2 separate regions of the Homo sapiens genome follow, and region 2 is linked to region 1. Evidence: promoter capture Hi-C in 16 types of primary human blood cells and fetal thymus (Javierre and others, 2016). All regions are on one chromosome and are shown on one strand. The core of a region is centred on a gene start or on the middle of the fragment in contact, and the rest is flanking DNA. Distances in the headings are between cores, read along the strand shown. Region 1 holds the start of ACSS1 (acyl-CoA synthetase short chain family member 1). Region 2 overlaps ABHD12 (abhydrolase domain containing 12, lysophospholipase).

Region 1 (7,348 bases), core at 3,531-6,030:
CTCAGTGAACTGGTGACGAAGCCAATTCCAGACTCCCAGCATCTGGGTCCTGTACTTGATCTGAGCTCTGCCATGCTCTTCTAAATTCTGTGTTTTGGTTTTACTGTGCATTTCAGCTATTTGAACAGTGTCTGTCTCTCCCCAATTTGAACTGTGACCTGCTTGCTTGCAGGGACCAAAACTGGACCGTCCTTGTCCAACTGAGAGCCCTCAGCTCTTGGTGGTGCACATGGGAGAAGCTCACAGGTTTCTTCTGAGTGTCATTGGAAAGAGGTGTGTGTGTGTGGGGTCACAGAGACAAATGAAGAGAACAGGAAGAGGGAGAGATGGAGGAGAGAAGAGGAAGGGAGGGTTTTACCAGCTCTTTGGAGACCACTGAGTGCACAGGGAGTGGTTGGGGATCCGTTATCAGCCAGGACTGTTTCTTGAGCATCTGAGCACTGCGACTCTGGAGTAATGGGCATGGCAGGAGCTATGAAGGCAAATGGCGAAGGCCGTGTTGGTGGGCTCTGTCCCTAAAGCTGTTAAATTAAGATGCTCTGGACGCTATGGCTCTGCTACCTACTAGCTGGTGGCCTCGGGTGAGCTTCTGTCCTCCTGCTTATTTTCACACATGTACAGCAAGGGCAAGAGCATTCACTGCTGCAGGTTGTAGGGTCAGTAGTCACAGCTGTGTTGGCATTTCTGGCCTAAACATTAGTACCGAGACAGAAGCGAATCCCGGATTCCCAAGAACCCTGCCCTCTAAGCACTTCGTGTGTCTGCAGCCCCTGCCTGACAGCATCCAGCGTTCCAAGTGAGCTCTCCTGAAGTTGAGGCCAGCGGCTTCTTAGGGAGAAGATGTGACCAGCACTGCCCAGATAGCCTGCTGCCCTGTCCAAACCTCTGAGGGTCCTTCGGGATGCAGGGCCAAGAGTGGGTGCTCCTTGTGCTTGTTCAATCTTGTGCTTGTTCTGCAAGAGTTGATGACTGGCTGCCAGGAGGGAGGCAGTGGGGACGACCTTGGCCTGGGCTGTGACACTCAGAAGGAAGGTCTCAAGGCCACCTCTAGGTAACTCGGGCAGCAAGAAGTGCAGTTCTGCACCACCTGGTTGGTTCTGACATGTTTGGTTCTGAAATGATCACTTCTTCTTATCCAACCAGAAGGAACGAGGTAGCATTTATTTTAAAACAGAGTTAGTTCTACCTACTTTTCTCATTGCAACTGTAGAAGACCTTAGAAACGAAGGTAGTAGGAAGAAGGAGCCATTGCCGTGCACTCTCCATGGGGTGGCTGTTGGTGCCAGGCCCAGTCACAAGCAGCATAGCTGGTCTCTTCTCTCACAGGGCTCCCTCCTGGTAGGAGGACTAGGAAGATAAACACAGAGCTAATAAGTAACAGCCATGGAGAAAAGTCAAGTCAGGGGTTGAGACTAGGGAATGAGGGCGGAGGTATAACTTTATGTAGGTGACAGGGAAGAAAGGGCTCTTGGATGAAGGGATGTTTGAAGACACCTGAAGGAGGTGAGGGGGAGTCTCTGTGGACAACTGGGTGGAGCATTCCAGGCAGAAGGGACATCGTGTGGCAGTCCTGAGGTGGGAGCCTGCTGGGTGATGGGAAGGACAGGAGGAGGCTGATGTGCTGGAGCCCCAATGAGTGAGAGCAGAGGAAGAGGGTACACTGGATCAGGGAGGGCAACGCTTCTCTAACGTGAATGTGCATGCAGCTCCCCTGGGGCTTAAGATGCAGATTCTGAGGCAGCAGGTCTGAGATGGAGCCTGGCATTCTGCATTTCTACAAAGTATCCAAGTGATGCTGCTGGCCCATGGACCACACGTTAAGTAGTGAGGCTATGGCCTGTGGGCCAGGGAATGATGTGGTCTTTGTTTTGAGGAGACTGGGGAGCCTTTGGATTGTTCCAAGCTCCAGAGCAAGTTCCTCTGACTCTTGTTTTAAAGGAATTGCACTGGCTGCTGGTTAGGCTGTCAGGGGCAAGGGTGAAAGCAATTTGAAGCCTACTGAATAATCCTAAAAGAGATAGGTATGGTTAGGATGGTAGCAGGAGGGGATGGTGATGGGGGAAGAGGTTAGTGCTGCAGGTGTTCTGAAGGTGAGTCACAGGATTTGCTGACAGGCTGCATGTGGAGTGTGAGGGGGAGGAATCTAGGATGACAAGGGTATGAGCCCAAACAACAGGAAAATGCCATTTCCATTCACTGACATGGAAGATCCGTGTTGTGGGGAAGAATCCCAGGACTTGGTATGTTTCAGATGTGAATGAGACATTTGAATACAGGACTGAGATGTGGAGGAAAGGTCCAGGCGGGAGGTGTCAATATGAAAGTGAGAGGCTAGAGAGCTGGCTGCTGTTTCCTAGGGGGCAGGGGAGAAAGGGGGATTTGAGGGCTGAGCTCCTGGGCACTTCAACACTTGGAAGGCAGAGAGAAGAAAGGCACCCAGTACAGGGCACTGAGAGGCAATAGTCAGTGAGTGAAAGAACCATGCATTTTTCAGCCTCAGTTGTTGTATCAGTTACCACTGCTGAGTTACAAACCATCCCAAAATTTAGTGGCTTAAATTTATTCCTTCTACAATTCTGTAAGTGGACTGGGAGGTTCCTTTGCATCCCAGGTGTTATCTGGGGTGACTCATGAGGCTGCCTTGGCTGGGACAGGAGCCTCCACATTGGCGTCATTCTTGTCTGGGAGTTGGTCCTGGCTGTGGATGGGACAGCTTCATCCTCGCCCTGGGTCCCTTCCTCTGGAAGGCCAGCCCCGCTTCCTCACAGCTCGCAGCTGGGTTCCATGGGAGGATAAGCTGGGGCTACGGGGTCTCTCAGGACCTCCACATGGAACTGTCACAGCATCCCTCCCACCAGGCTGTACTGGCCAAAGCAATCCAGCCAGCCAGGGTCCTCCTCTGGACAGAGCAGCACACCATCATGTGCAGGCGGTGCAGGCGTGGGAAGGAAGAGTTGGTGGCCGTCTTTGGGACCCCCTGCCACAGTTAGGAGCTTTCTCAGTTTACAATTTTACTACTCACTGACCTCTGCCTCTCAGTGCCCTGTACTGGGTGTCTTTAATATTCTATTCAAATGAACTTAGGCCAACGAGCTCCCCACTGGGGGCACTGGGTGTTAGTCTTGCTCTTCCCTTAGCCAGCTGCATGCTCTTTAGTAAGTCCTTTTATTTATTTGGGCTCAGTTTCCTCATTTTTTCCACCTGGAGTTTGACAGTTGGTGGGAATGGACAGCACTAGATAAGTTTCAAATTAAGTAGACTAGTCGGGTGCCGTGGCACACGCTTGTAGTTCCAGATACTCAGGAGGCCGAGTCAGGAGGATCGCTTGAGCTCAGGAGTTCCAGGCTGTAGTGAGCTGTGATGGGAACCATTGCACTCCAGCCTGGGCTACAGGCCCTATCTCTAAAAAAGTATCATAAATAAATAAAGGAGAAAATGCAGGTCAAGCGCTAGCACTGTGCAGGGCATGTGTTATGCTAGTAGATGTCACTGATTCTCCAGCTCTAGGTACACTCCTGTCTTCTCTGGCAGACAGCAGCATTCCCCAGCAGGGGCTGGTGGCTAGCCCACGCAGAGGCTCCTCCAATGGCAGGCTCCTCCCCTCTGCAAGCCCTACAGCTCAAGGGAAAGAAACTTTCCCATCACAGAGAACTCAATAAACCAGTTTTCCAAAATCTCTCTTCCCTGTGTTTACCCGTTTGTTATGAATTTACTTCTTGGGTGTCAGAATATTTAAGAACTCGGTGGAGACCAGTTTTATACGTTTCCTTCTGTCCTTCCTGGCTCCACAGCTGCAAAAACATCATCCCCACTACTGAGCTTACTATGGGGCCACGCAAGGGTAGACGCTTGACAGACATTGTCCAATGTATTCCTTACTGCAGCTGCCCACCCCCGCCGTCCCCGCCCCCCAGGGAGACATTACTTCCGTCTTCCCCAAAAGGAAAACGAGGCACCGAGAAGTTAAGGAACTTGCTCAAGGTCACAGAGTTTGAACTCAGGCTACAGATGCTGCAGCAACTGGAGAAAGTCCTCATCGCCCCATATCACCCACCACCGACCCCCAGCAGGACGTGACCCCCGCCAGGACGGAGGCCGGCAGCTGGGGGGCTGGAGCATGGGACCCAGAACACGGACTCAGGCTTGCGCAGCCTCCTGGCTTCTAGGCGGGAGCCTAGAAAGGCGCCAGCCCCTTTCGCGTGCTGCTGAGACTCCAGGGGTGGGGTTCACTCTCAGGGGCGCACAAAGGCATGAAAACCTTGGCTTCAGCCTCTGAGATGCGGAACTGACCGACCTATTGTCTTGGGACCCACCAGTGCGCTTGGGTGCACCAGCCCCCTTAACGTTGGTGCCGGCTCCCTCCCGGCTCCTCCCCATCCCAGAGGGTCCCCTCGCCCCAGGCCCTGAGCCTGCGTCCTGGGGTCCTGGGCCGCACGTGCCTCTGGCAGCTCGAAGAAGCTGTCGGGGCTTGCAGGAGAGCGTGCAAACTGAAACCAAAACAGGCCGACTCGAGGAACATCCGGGTGGGACCGCAGACTCACCGGAGCGCAGCGCCTGGGCCAGGGCCTGGGACCCTGCTCCGCCCCGCGCTCCCCTGCACCCCTTCCCCACGCTGCTCCCCTCTTCCTAAGCGGCCCCCCCTCTCCCGGGCAGCAGAAGAAGGGGTGGGACCCGGGCGGGCTCCGGGAGGGGGCCCTGGAGGAATGGATGGTGGCGGAAGGGCGGAGCAGGGGCGGGGCCCGCGGAGACTCCACGGGGCGCCCCGGGCGTGAGGCACCCACTCTGGGAGCACAGAGAGCTCAGGTAGCCTGCCTAGATGGCGGCGCGCACCCTGGGCCGCGGCGTCGGGAGGCTGCTGGGCAGCCTGCGAGGGCTCTCGGGGCAGCCCGCGCGGCCGCCGTGCGGGGTGAGCGCGCCGCGCAGGGCGGCCTCGGGACCCTCGGGCAGCGCTCCCGCAGTTGCAGCAGCAGCAGCACAGCCAGGCTCGTATCCCGCGCTGAGTGCACAGGCAGCCCGGGAGCCGGCCGCCTTCTGGGGGCCTCTGGCGCGGGACACTCTCGTGTGGGACACCCCCTACCACACCGTCTGGGACTGCGACTTCAGCACTGGCAAGATCGGCTGGTTCCTGGGAGGCCAGTTAAATGTCTCTGGTGAGTGGGCTTCGGGAGACCCAGGACGCCCCCAACTCTTGGGTCCCGAGGGGACTCGGAGCCTCTCGCCAGCGGCAGCCGTCCCCGGGCAGCGCGGATCGCAGCCCTGCAGGGGCCCCTCCTCCGGTATTCCGTCCGCCCCGCCCGCTCTAAGCAGTGGCTCCACGTCACCCCGTCCCTCATCCCATCGGGCCCCAGATCCACGTGCCCAGCTCGGGCCGGCGCCCGCGGGGACCCGGCGGCCGCTTGGGACGCCCCGCTGCTGGCCTTGCTCGGCGCGGCTCCTCGCTCGGCGGACTCCAGAGTTGCGTTACCGGGTGCATAGCGCCGCTGAGCAAGAGCCGGCGGGGAGCCGCGGGCTACACCCGAGCGCCCCGGAGTCGGGACTTTCCCGTTCCCATACCGGGGTGGAGGGAAAAACAAAGCGGTGGCGGTTGTCACTGCGGGCTGCGGTGCCCGGGGATCAGCCTGGGGACAAGCCCTGCCCACGTAAACAAACAGAGCTGTGGCGGGCGACCTGGGGAGGAGGAAACTCGGCGTGGCAGCTGGAACCAGTTATTTCTTCGCTGCGGGCCTGGGGCCTGGGGCCTGTGGACGGGAAGGAAGTAACGGCGGCCTCCCCGTTCTCGTTCTCGGCCTCAGAGAACTGCACCCCAGCGACCTGGGGCCTGCTTTGGACCCGCGGGGTCTGACGTCGGCCCCAAACAGTTGACTGGTGGTCAGTTGTTTGGAACTTGCTGAGCAGAGGCCCTGCTGCTCTGCTAAGATTTGGGGCTGGGGGTCGTACACAGCACCCTCGCCCCCACCTAAGGCGCTGACTGGGCACCGAGGGGGAGGCCCTGAACTGCAGGCAGGGCTGGCCACGCAGGGTGGGTGCCAAGTGCGAGGTGGGCTCCGGATGCAGGGTGGGCCTGGGTGTGGGGCCTGCGGGGAGGGGCTGGCAGACACGGTGTTGATCAGAGGGATGCAGACCAGAAGGGTGGTCATAACCAGCTTGCTGGATTTGGGAGTGTTTAAGAAAGGACCTGCGGGTCTTTATGGCAGGGTCACCAGGGCCCCATTTTCTCCAACTCCTCCCTCAGTTGTCCTTGTTGTTCTGCCCCCCCAGCCCTCAGTCTCCTCATTGTGAGGATGGGGGCAGTCATGCTCAGAGGTTAGGCTGAGTGCTGCAAGGTGTGCAGCAGACCCAGCGCTTACTGGTGACCCATAAGCAGTAGCGATTTTAGATAACTTCAGAAATAGTCATACAATTATAGATAGTGTCTTGCAGTTATTTTTCAAAGAAATTGGAAGGAACTTTGGACCTCCCCCACTCCCCGAAATTGTATATTACTTTGCTGGTTTAATTAAAATGAGTCACTTACTAGATAAGTGTTTTCTTTAACATTGAGTCAGCAGCAAGTGCCCTTGAACTAGTGGGAAAAAAACCAAACCCTTTGGTTTGCAGAGTTGGGGCAATGTGCCCTTGAAGGAGACTAGAGCAGCTTGCCCAAGGACAGAGGTGGAAAGTGACCTGCTCTGGACTTGTGAGGCCAAGGTCATGGGGAACATTCACAGTTGGCCTGTGCACACTTGCAGCCCCACTCAGATAAGACAGTGGGGCGGACCTCCTGGGGCCAACAGCAAGGACCTTCTGAACCTCGCTCGGTCAGGATCAGGGTGTGGTCAGCAAGCATTCTTCTGTCTCCTTTTCCTTCACTTATTTCTTCTGATAATATGGCCTTTATGGCTACGTTAGCCAGAAATTGAGCTTCAGAAAACTAACTTGAAAAACAGCTTTTCAGCAGCTTTCTCCCCTGGGATGTGCGTGCCCTCCTGTTCATGGGTCAGCAATATCTCTTTCCTTTGCCGGTGTCTGCAAACCATAGAGAAGACAGTATGAAAAAGGGCCAGGCCAGGCCATGACTCTTCTGGGAGCATCTAGAAAGTCGTGGGATGGATGAGAACACTTTGGTCTGATCTGTCAGCTGTGTGTGATAAAGTCAGATGGCTTGTTCCAAAGGAATATCACTCTTGAAGAAAGCTTCACCTCACCCCCTCAAGAATACCAGTGGTTCTCAACGCATGGTCTTCAGACCTGCAGCATCAGCATTACCTGAGAACTTTTGAGAAATACAAATTCTGGAGCCCATCCTGGACATCTGGAATCAGAAACCCTGGGATGGGACCTGACACCTGTGTTTATAACGAGCCCTTCA
Region 2 (7,348 bases), core at 3,066-5,565, 320 kb before region 1:
GAGGAAATGCAGGTAGCTTTTCCAGGGAGCTGTGCAGTAAAGGGGGAAAGACAGGGAGGGATGGCTGGAGGGGGTGAGTTTTCTTAGCAGTGATATTAGATATCAAAAAATAAATAAATAATAAAAGCATCACTATGCCATAGGACAACTTCAGGCAGCCCACTATATTGATAATTATGATATTATGATAGTTATGTGATATATTAGCCAAAATCGCGCCATTGCATTCCAGCCTGGGCAACAAGAGCGAAACTCCATCTCAAAAAAACAACAAAAGAAACCACTCAATGGTAATTGTATTCCATGTGTTCCAGAAGTTAAGTGGAGTTATGGAAAACCTGAAAATTACTGAAATGGAATTTCTAAAGATGAAAACCACAATGTGTGAGATAAAGGTTACACTGAAGGGAATTACACTGAAGGGCAGATTAAACACTGCTAAAGAAAGGGCTCAACTATTCAATGTGAAACCTGGGGAAAAGAGAACCAAACAAATTTTCAAAAGCATCGTTACAAGGCCAGGTGCGGTGGCACACACCTGTACTCCTGCCATGCCTGTAATCCCAGCATACCTGTAATCCTAGCACTTTGGGAGGATAAAGAAGGAGGATCACTTGAGCCCAGGAATCTGAGACCAGCCTGGGCAATGAAGGGAGACCTCATCTAGACCAAAAAAAAAAAGAATTAGCCAGGCATGGCGTGCATGATTGCTTGAGCCCGGGAGGTCAAGACTGTGTGAGCCATGATCAAGCCACTGCACTCTGGTCTGGGCAACAGAGTGACACCCTGTCTCAAAAAAATATATAAATAAATAAAAGCATCACTATGCTATAGGATAACTTCAAGCAGCCTATTATATTGATAATTATGATATCATAATTGTGCAATATTAGAGCAGTCTGGAGTGTGCATGGGAATAATCCAGGGGAGAGGAGAAGATGGACGGCATGGGACAGAGTAGGTGCAGTGATGTCTCTGGGCCTGTGAGAAGGGATGGGACCCAGTGTTCTGAGGCTGAGCAGAGGAGTTCCCCTCAGATAGGAAGGAAGGCCAAGGCTGTGGGGAAAGACATGGGTAAGTTGATCTATTTGTGGGTGAAGGAATCTGCCAGTTCTCTTCTGAGTGCTTGTGCTGTCCTTAGGAAATAAGCAGCAAGGCCATCTGCTAGGAGGGCAGAGGGAAAAGGAGGTACTGGGCCTCTCTCTCTCAGTTCCCCACGTGGGCGCAGTCTGAGCTCTCATATCGTCTTTCTGACATTTAATGTTTTTAAAAAGGATGACAAGGACAGTTCCCTTGGGAAGTCATTTCAGTCACGACCTGCTGTGTATCTGTGGAGTTGACATGTTCTGCATAGTTGAGTGCTCCCCTGCTCTGGGAAGCCTGCACGGGGTCCCTGCACACATCCCAGCATGGAGGGTCTCAGGGCTGGGTTTGAGACGAAGGTGGGCGAAAGGTTCACATGAACTGAGGTCATGACAGAGTGATCAGGTGGGACCAGGCAGAACTCTCGGCCCCCAGGGCTTGCTGGTACACAGATTGCTAAGTGTCTTCATTGTTAAATAGAATTAATCTTCATATGGTAGTTGTGGGCTGAGTTGCCTCATTCACTTGTGATAAGTTTAGCGGATAAGAAAATGTCCTGACATAATGAGAGCAGAGGGCAGATGGGTGTTGGTGTGGGAAAGGCTGAGAAAGCCAGGACTTTTGGGTTTGTAAAGGTGAACGTGGACACGGCTGTCAGTGAGGGAATACACGCATACCTCAGGGGTGCTGAAACTTAGGGTTTGTTCTTGAAGCCTGAAGTTGTCCTGAGCTTCATGGTAAAAAAAAAAAAAAAAAAAAGTTCAAATTATCTTCAGTTCTTATCAGGCTGGTGGAGTCTTCAAACAAAGCTTGGGGTATATTGACTGAACTGTTCGTAATGGGAAGGTAAGAATGTTCAGGGTCAATGCCGGTCATTTTGATGTGGTAGTTCAGATCACTAGAATAGATATGGCTTTTAACTTTCAACTATTTTTTTCTCCTCATAATGTGTACATCATATATGCCCTACCCCTTCATCCTTGACCTTTGCCACTCCTGGTCCTGGATAACCACATTGCTCCTACCTGAAAGTGGCCCTGTCAATGCCAAGTGCCCATAGGTCATTTTATTCAGTAGCTACTGTATTCCTGCTGTTTGCCAGATGTTGTGCCAGGCCCTGGGGATACAAGGAGATAGTACCTGTCCTCAGGGAGCTAGTTGTCTGTCATGTTTTATGCTTGGCAACCATCAGCTCTTGCATACTCAGGCTTTGATGATGCCTTTGGCAAAGAGAAAATACAGGGATGGCTGGAGAAGGTTAGTCTACCTTCATTCACATTTATCCTTTCTTAAAGACTCCTGTGTTGCTCTGACATTTTTATGTACTGATTTATCTTCAGGGTATCTGCTATGGCTTGATGGTTTAATGGTTTAAATGTGTCCCCGAAAATTTCATGTGTTGGAAAGTATTGGAATCTTGGTCCTCAATGTAGTACTAACTACATATAAGAAGTGGGACCTGGCCGGACGCGGTGGCCCACGCCTGTCATCCCAGCACTTTGGGAGGCTGAGGTGGGCGGAACACGAGATCAAGAGATCAAGACCATCCTGGCCAACATGGTGAAACCCCGTCTATCCTAAAAATACAAAAATTAGCTGGGTGTGGTGGCACACGCCTGTAATCCCAGCTACTTGGGAGGCTGAGGCAGGAGAATCGCTTGAACCTGGAAGGCAGAAGTTGCAGTGAGCCGAGATCACGCCACTGTACTCCAGCCTGGGTGACAGAGCAAGATTCCATCTCAAAACAAACAAACAAAAAAACTAGAGGTGGGACCTTTGGGAGGTGATTGGGTCATGAGGGCTTTGCTCTCATGAGTGGATGAATCCATTCATAGATTAATGGTTTATTGAGGGTTTGGGTTAGTTATCATGAGAGTTATCACTGTTGTAAAAGGCAGTGTGGCCATCTCCTCTGATCCCCATTACCATGTGATGCCCTGAGCCACCTTGGGACTCTTCGGAGTCCCCACCAGCAAGAAGGTCCTCACCAGATATGGCCCCTTGACCTTGGACTTCCCAGCCTCCAGAATGCTAAGAAATAAATTTCCTTCTTTATAAATTACTGACCTCAGTTATTTAATTATAGAAACAAAAAACTGACTAAGAATAGGTCTCTTAGCCTCTTGCTTGACAGGATGTAATGCAAAATGCATTGCTGGCCAATAGAGCCATCTAAAGACATGAGAAAAATTCTCAGTTTGGGGACACAGGACACCTTGACAAGGCACATCATGGCATAACCTACAAGAAGGCAAGCAAAAAAGACTGCCATTCTAGGACATTCAATATCTGGCTTAGGGTTCCAGGAGGAAGGGACTGTTAGGCCAGTACAGGCCAGCTGGGAGGCTGCCAGTGCAGCCCCAGAGCCTCAGGAAAAAGCTGAAGGAGATTCTGCCAGGGCCCAGGGAAGCATCTCCAGGTATGAGGTCGCCTGGGAGATGTCATAGCTGTGGTGAAGGGCGGCCTCTGAGGGGCCCTCTCTCTCTCACTCTGTTCCTCTCTCAAACAGTTTGATTTTTTTTTCTGATTCCAAAGTAATAAAGAGTTCTTAATAAAAATTTAAAACAGAGAAAGTGAAACTCCCTCTGGATAATTGCTGTGAACAGTGTGGCCTGTGTTGAGAGTATTGCTCCTGTGTTCTTCCATCCATTTAGCAAGTATGTCTTTTTCGTTGACCTAGCCTTCACTGAAGGCTAGAGTGGATAAAATGCTGCACAAGAGTGGGACAAATCCCAGTCCTTGTGGGACTTCTGTTCTCATGAAGGAGAAACACGGCAACAAAGATAGCACATAAGTATACAGTAAAATTTCAAAGGGTGATAAAGTGCTATAAAGAAAAATAAAGCAAGGTAAGGTTATGTGGCTGTGTGTAAAGCACCTGAAAACATGCCGTACCACAGTGGTGAAATATTTTTGTTTCTGCCAGGAAAATAAGGCCTTCTCACAGTAGGATACCCAGTTGTTCAGTTCTGCCGACTGAATCCTCATGATTTTTTGTTTTCTTCTTTGGGAACAAAGAGACATTTATGGACTGCTCTTGTGTGTTTTATTAAGGCCTTAAAGTTTTCAATTCAGTAGAGTGAAATTGCTCTCAACACTGACTGCTTTTGAATATGATTATGGAGATTGTTGTTAAGATTTCCGCCTAAAAGCTAAGAAGAATTTAATCTGTTAGTCTTGGGGAATGAGATTTGGCGTTACTCTCTTGTTCCTTCTAAGAGAATACCATGGAATTAAATGATAAAACACTTTTCCTCAACAATTTTGATGGTTACATTAATGAAGGAGTTGATGAAAACTAATTGTAGACATTATTATTATTATTATTATTTTTTGAGACAGAGTCTCACTCTGTCGCCCAGGCTGGAGTGCAGTGGTGCGATCTGGGCTCACTACAATCTCCGCCTCCCAGCTCATGCCATTCTCCTGCCTCAGCCTCCCAAGTGGCTGGGACTACAGGCGCCCACCACCACGCCCAGCTAATATTTTTGTATTTTTAGTAGAGACGGGGTTTCACCGTGTTAGCCAGGATGGTCTCGATCTCCTGACCTCGTGATCCACCTGCCTTGGCCTCCCAAAGTGCTGGGATTACAGGTGTGAGCCACTGCACCCAGCTAATTATAGACATATTTTAAAAGAAACATAGAACTTCCACTACTGACCAAGGTGGCTGAATTTACCCGGAAATAACCCAAATAGCAGCCACAACAAAAACGACAACATACACGAAACAATTTTTAAAACACTGGGCACCAAGCAACAAAGGACAGTAAACTCGGAGAAGTGACAGACAAAGGAAGTGAGCCCTACAGTACCCTAGCTGATCTCCTTGAGAGAGCTTCCACGCCATGGCACAGGGAGGGGAGCCACGTGGACTCCCAGGGTTGTGGGTGTGGAGCTGAGAATCTGGAGAGACCAATGTGGCTAGAGTTTATAGGACAGAGTACCAGAGAGGAGAGAGCAACACAGAGAGAGACCCTGGGGTCTGCAGAGGGTCCCCTTGATCAGCACACGTGTGTGAGGAAACTCTCTGTGGCTGGGGAAAGAACTGTCTGAAAAGATCAGAAGATACAGTCCCTGCTACTTAGAGCAAGATTATAATTTACTGGTAGAACATTCAGGAACAGCATGCTTCAGTAGTGGGAAATTCCAGGTGTATGGGTTTGTGAGGGCTACCATAACAAAGTAACACAGACCAGGTGACTTAAATGGCAGAAGTTTATTTTCTCTCGATTCCAGAGGCCAGAAGTCCAAGATGGAGGTGTCAGCAGGGCTGGTTTCTCATGAGGCCCCTCTGCTTTGCCTGTAGATGACCACCTTCTCCATGTGTCTTCATATGGTCTAACCTCTGTGTGTGGCTCTTTCTGCATTTCTTCTTACAAAGCTGAGTCATAGTGGATTAGGGTCCACCCTGATGACCTCATTTTAGCATAATTACCTCCTTAAGACCCTCTCTCTAAATACAGTCATATTCTGAAGTGCTAGGGGTTAAGACTTCAACATACAAATTTTGAGGGGACATTATTCAGCCCATAGCACAGGCATGCAGAGTGGGAGGAAACTATGATGTGTATATAATGAAGAGAATAATCAATGAAAACCGACTGAGTACTGACACGCACGTTAGTGTTGAAGAGAAGCACATTAAAACACTGTAGGCTGGGCGTGGTGGCTCACACCTGTAATCCCAGCACTTTGGGAGGCCGAGGCGGGAGGATCACCTGAGGTAAGGAGTTTGAGACCAGCCTGACCAACATGGAGAAACCCTGTGTCCTGTCTCTACTAAAATTACAAAATTAGCCGGGTGTGGTGGCACATGCCTGTAATCCCAGCTACTCGGGAGGCTGAGGCAGGAGAATCACTTGAACCTGGGAGGCGGAGGTTGCAGTGAGCTGAGATCGTGCCACTGCACTCCAGCCTGGGCAACAAGAGCGAAATTCCATCTCAAAAACAAACAAACAAACTTACTGTAATTGTATTCCATATGTTCTAGAAGTTAAGTGGAGAGTCATGGAAAATCTGAAAATTACCCAAATTGAATTTCTGAAGATGAAAACCATAATGTGTGAGGTAAAGTTTACACTGAAGGGAATTACATTGAAGGGCAGATTAAACACTGCTAAAGAAAGAGCTCAACTATTCAACATGAAACCTGGGGAAAAGAGAACCAAACAGATTTTCAAAAGCATCATTACTAGGCCAGGTGTGGTGGCACACACCTGTACTCCGACCATGTGTGTAATCCCAGCACACCTGTAATCCTAGCACTTTGGGAGGATAAAGAAGGAGGATCACTTGAGCCCAGGAATCTGAGACCAGCCTGGGCAACAAAGGGAGACCTCATCAAAAAAGAAAAAAATTGAACAATTAGCCAGGCGTGGTGTGCATGCCTTTGATTACAACTAATTGGGAGGCTAAGGTGGGAGGATTGCTTGAGCCTGGGAGGTCAAGACTGCATGAGCCATGATCAAGCCACTACACTCTGGTCTGGGCAACAGAGTGAGACCCTGTCAATAAATAAATAAATAAATGCATCACTATGCTATGGGACAACTTCAGGTAGCCTATTATACTGATAATTAAAGTCCTCAAAGAAGAGGAGAAAGGAGAGAAAAAATATTTGAAGAAATAGTGGCCAGAAACTTTACAAGCTTGGTGAAAACTGTAAACCCACTGCTAAGAAGCTTAATTAATCTCCTGCATAAGAAACATGAAGCAGTATACCAAGGCACTTCGTAATCAAATTGCTCAAAATCAGTGATAAAGAAAAAAAAAACCTTCAAACCAACCAGAGGAAAAAAGACATACTGTGCACACAGGAACAAAGATATGGGCAAAGAAGTTTTCTTAAAAGAAAAGTAAGTAAGAATTCAGTGAAGCAACGTCTTTATTTTTTTAATTTTTTTTTTTGAGACGGTGTCTCAGTCTGTATCCCAGGCTGGAGCACAGTGGCACAATCTCTGCTCACTGCAACCTTCATCTTCCGGATTCAAGCAATTCTCCTGCCTCAGCCCCCCAAGTAGCCAGGATTACAGGTGCCCGCCACCACACCCGGCTGATTTTTGTATTTTTAGTAGATACAGAGTTTTACCATGTTGGCCAGGCCGGTCTTGAACTCCTGACCTCAGGTGATCCACCCGCCCCGGCTTCCCAAAATGCTGGGATTACAGGTTTGAGTCACTGCGCCTGGCCTTGAAGCAACATCTTTGACGCTGTCATGCCATGTAGTAATGTCACTCAATATAGTAATGTCACTCAATAACAG

Evidence for each region. Contacts are between HindIII fragments. The CHiCAGO score rates a contact against its expected background, and 5 or more counts as called.
Region 2: a contact is called between a fragment that was not itself captured here and the fragment with the promoter of ACSS1 in region 1, in 1 of 17 cell types (total B cells). The highest score is 5.3, in total B cells.

The regions. Positions count from the first base shown.
Region 1 is chr20:25,055,571-25,062,918 of GRCh38, reverse strand. ACSS1 (acyl-CoA synthetase short chain family member 1) reads left to right here and starts at 4,780. Exons shown (of 14, transcript NM_032501.4): 1 at 4,780-5,150. The coding sequence starts at 4,817. RefSeq lists enhancers at 4,299-4,904, 5,555-5,684 and silencers at 4,525-5,054, 5,185-5,454. The HindIII fragment of the contact is 7,356 bases long and covers 1-7,175 here.
Region 2 is chr20:25,373,192-25,380,539 of GRCh38, reverse strand. All of the region lies in intron 1 of ABHD12 (abhydrolase domain containing 12, lysophospholipase), which reads left to right. Among named protein-coding and RNA genes, the nearest start is that of ABHD12, 14 kb to the left of the region's middle. The HindIII fragment of the contact is 4,842 bases long and covers 1,895-6,736 here.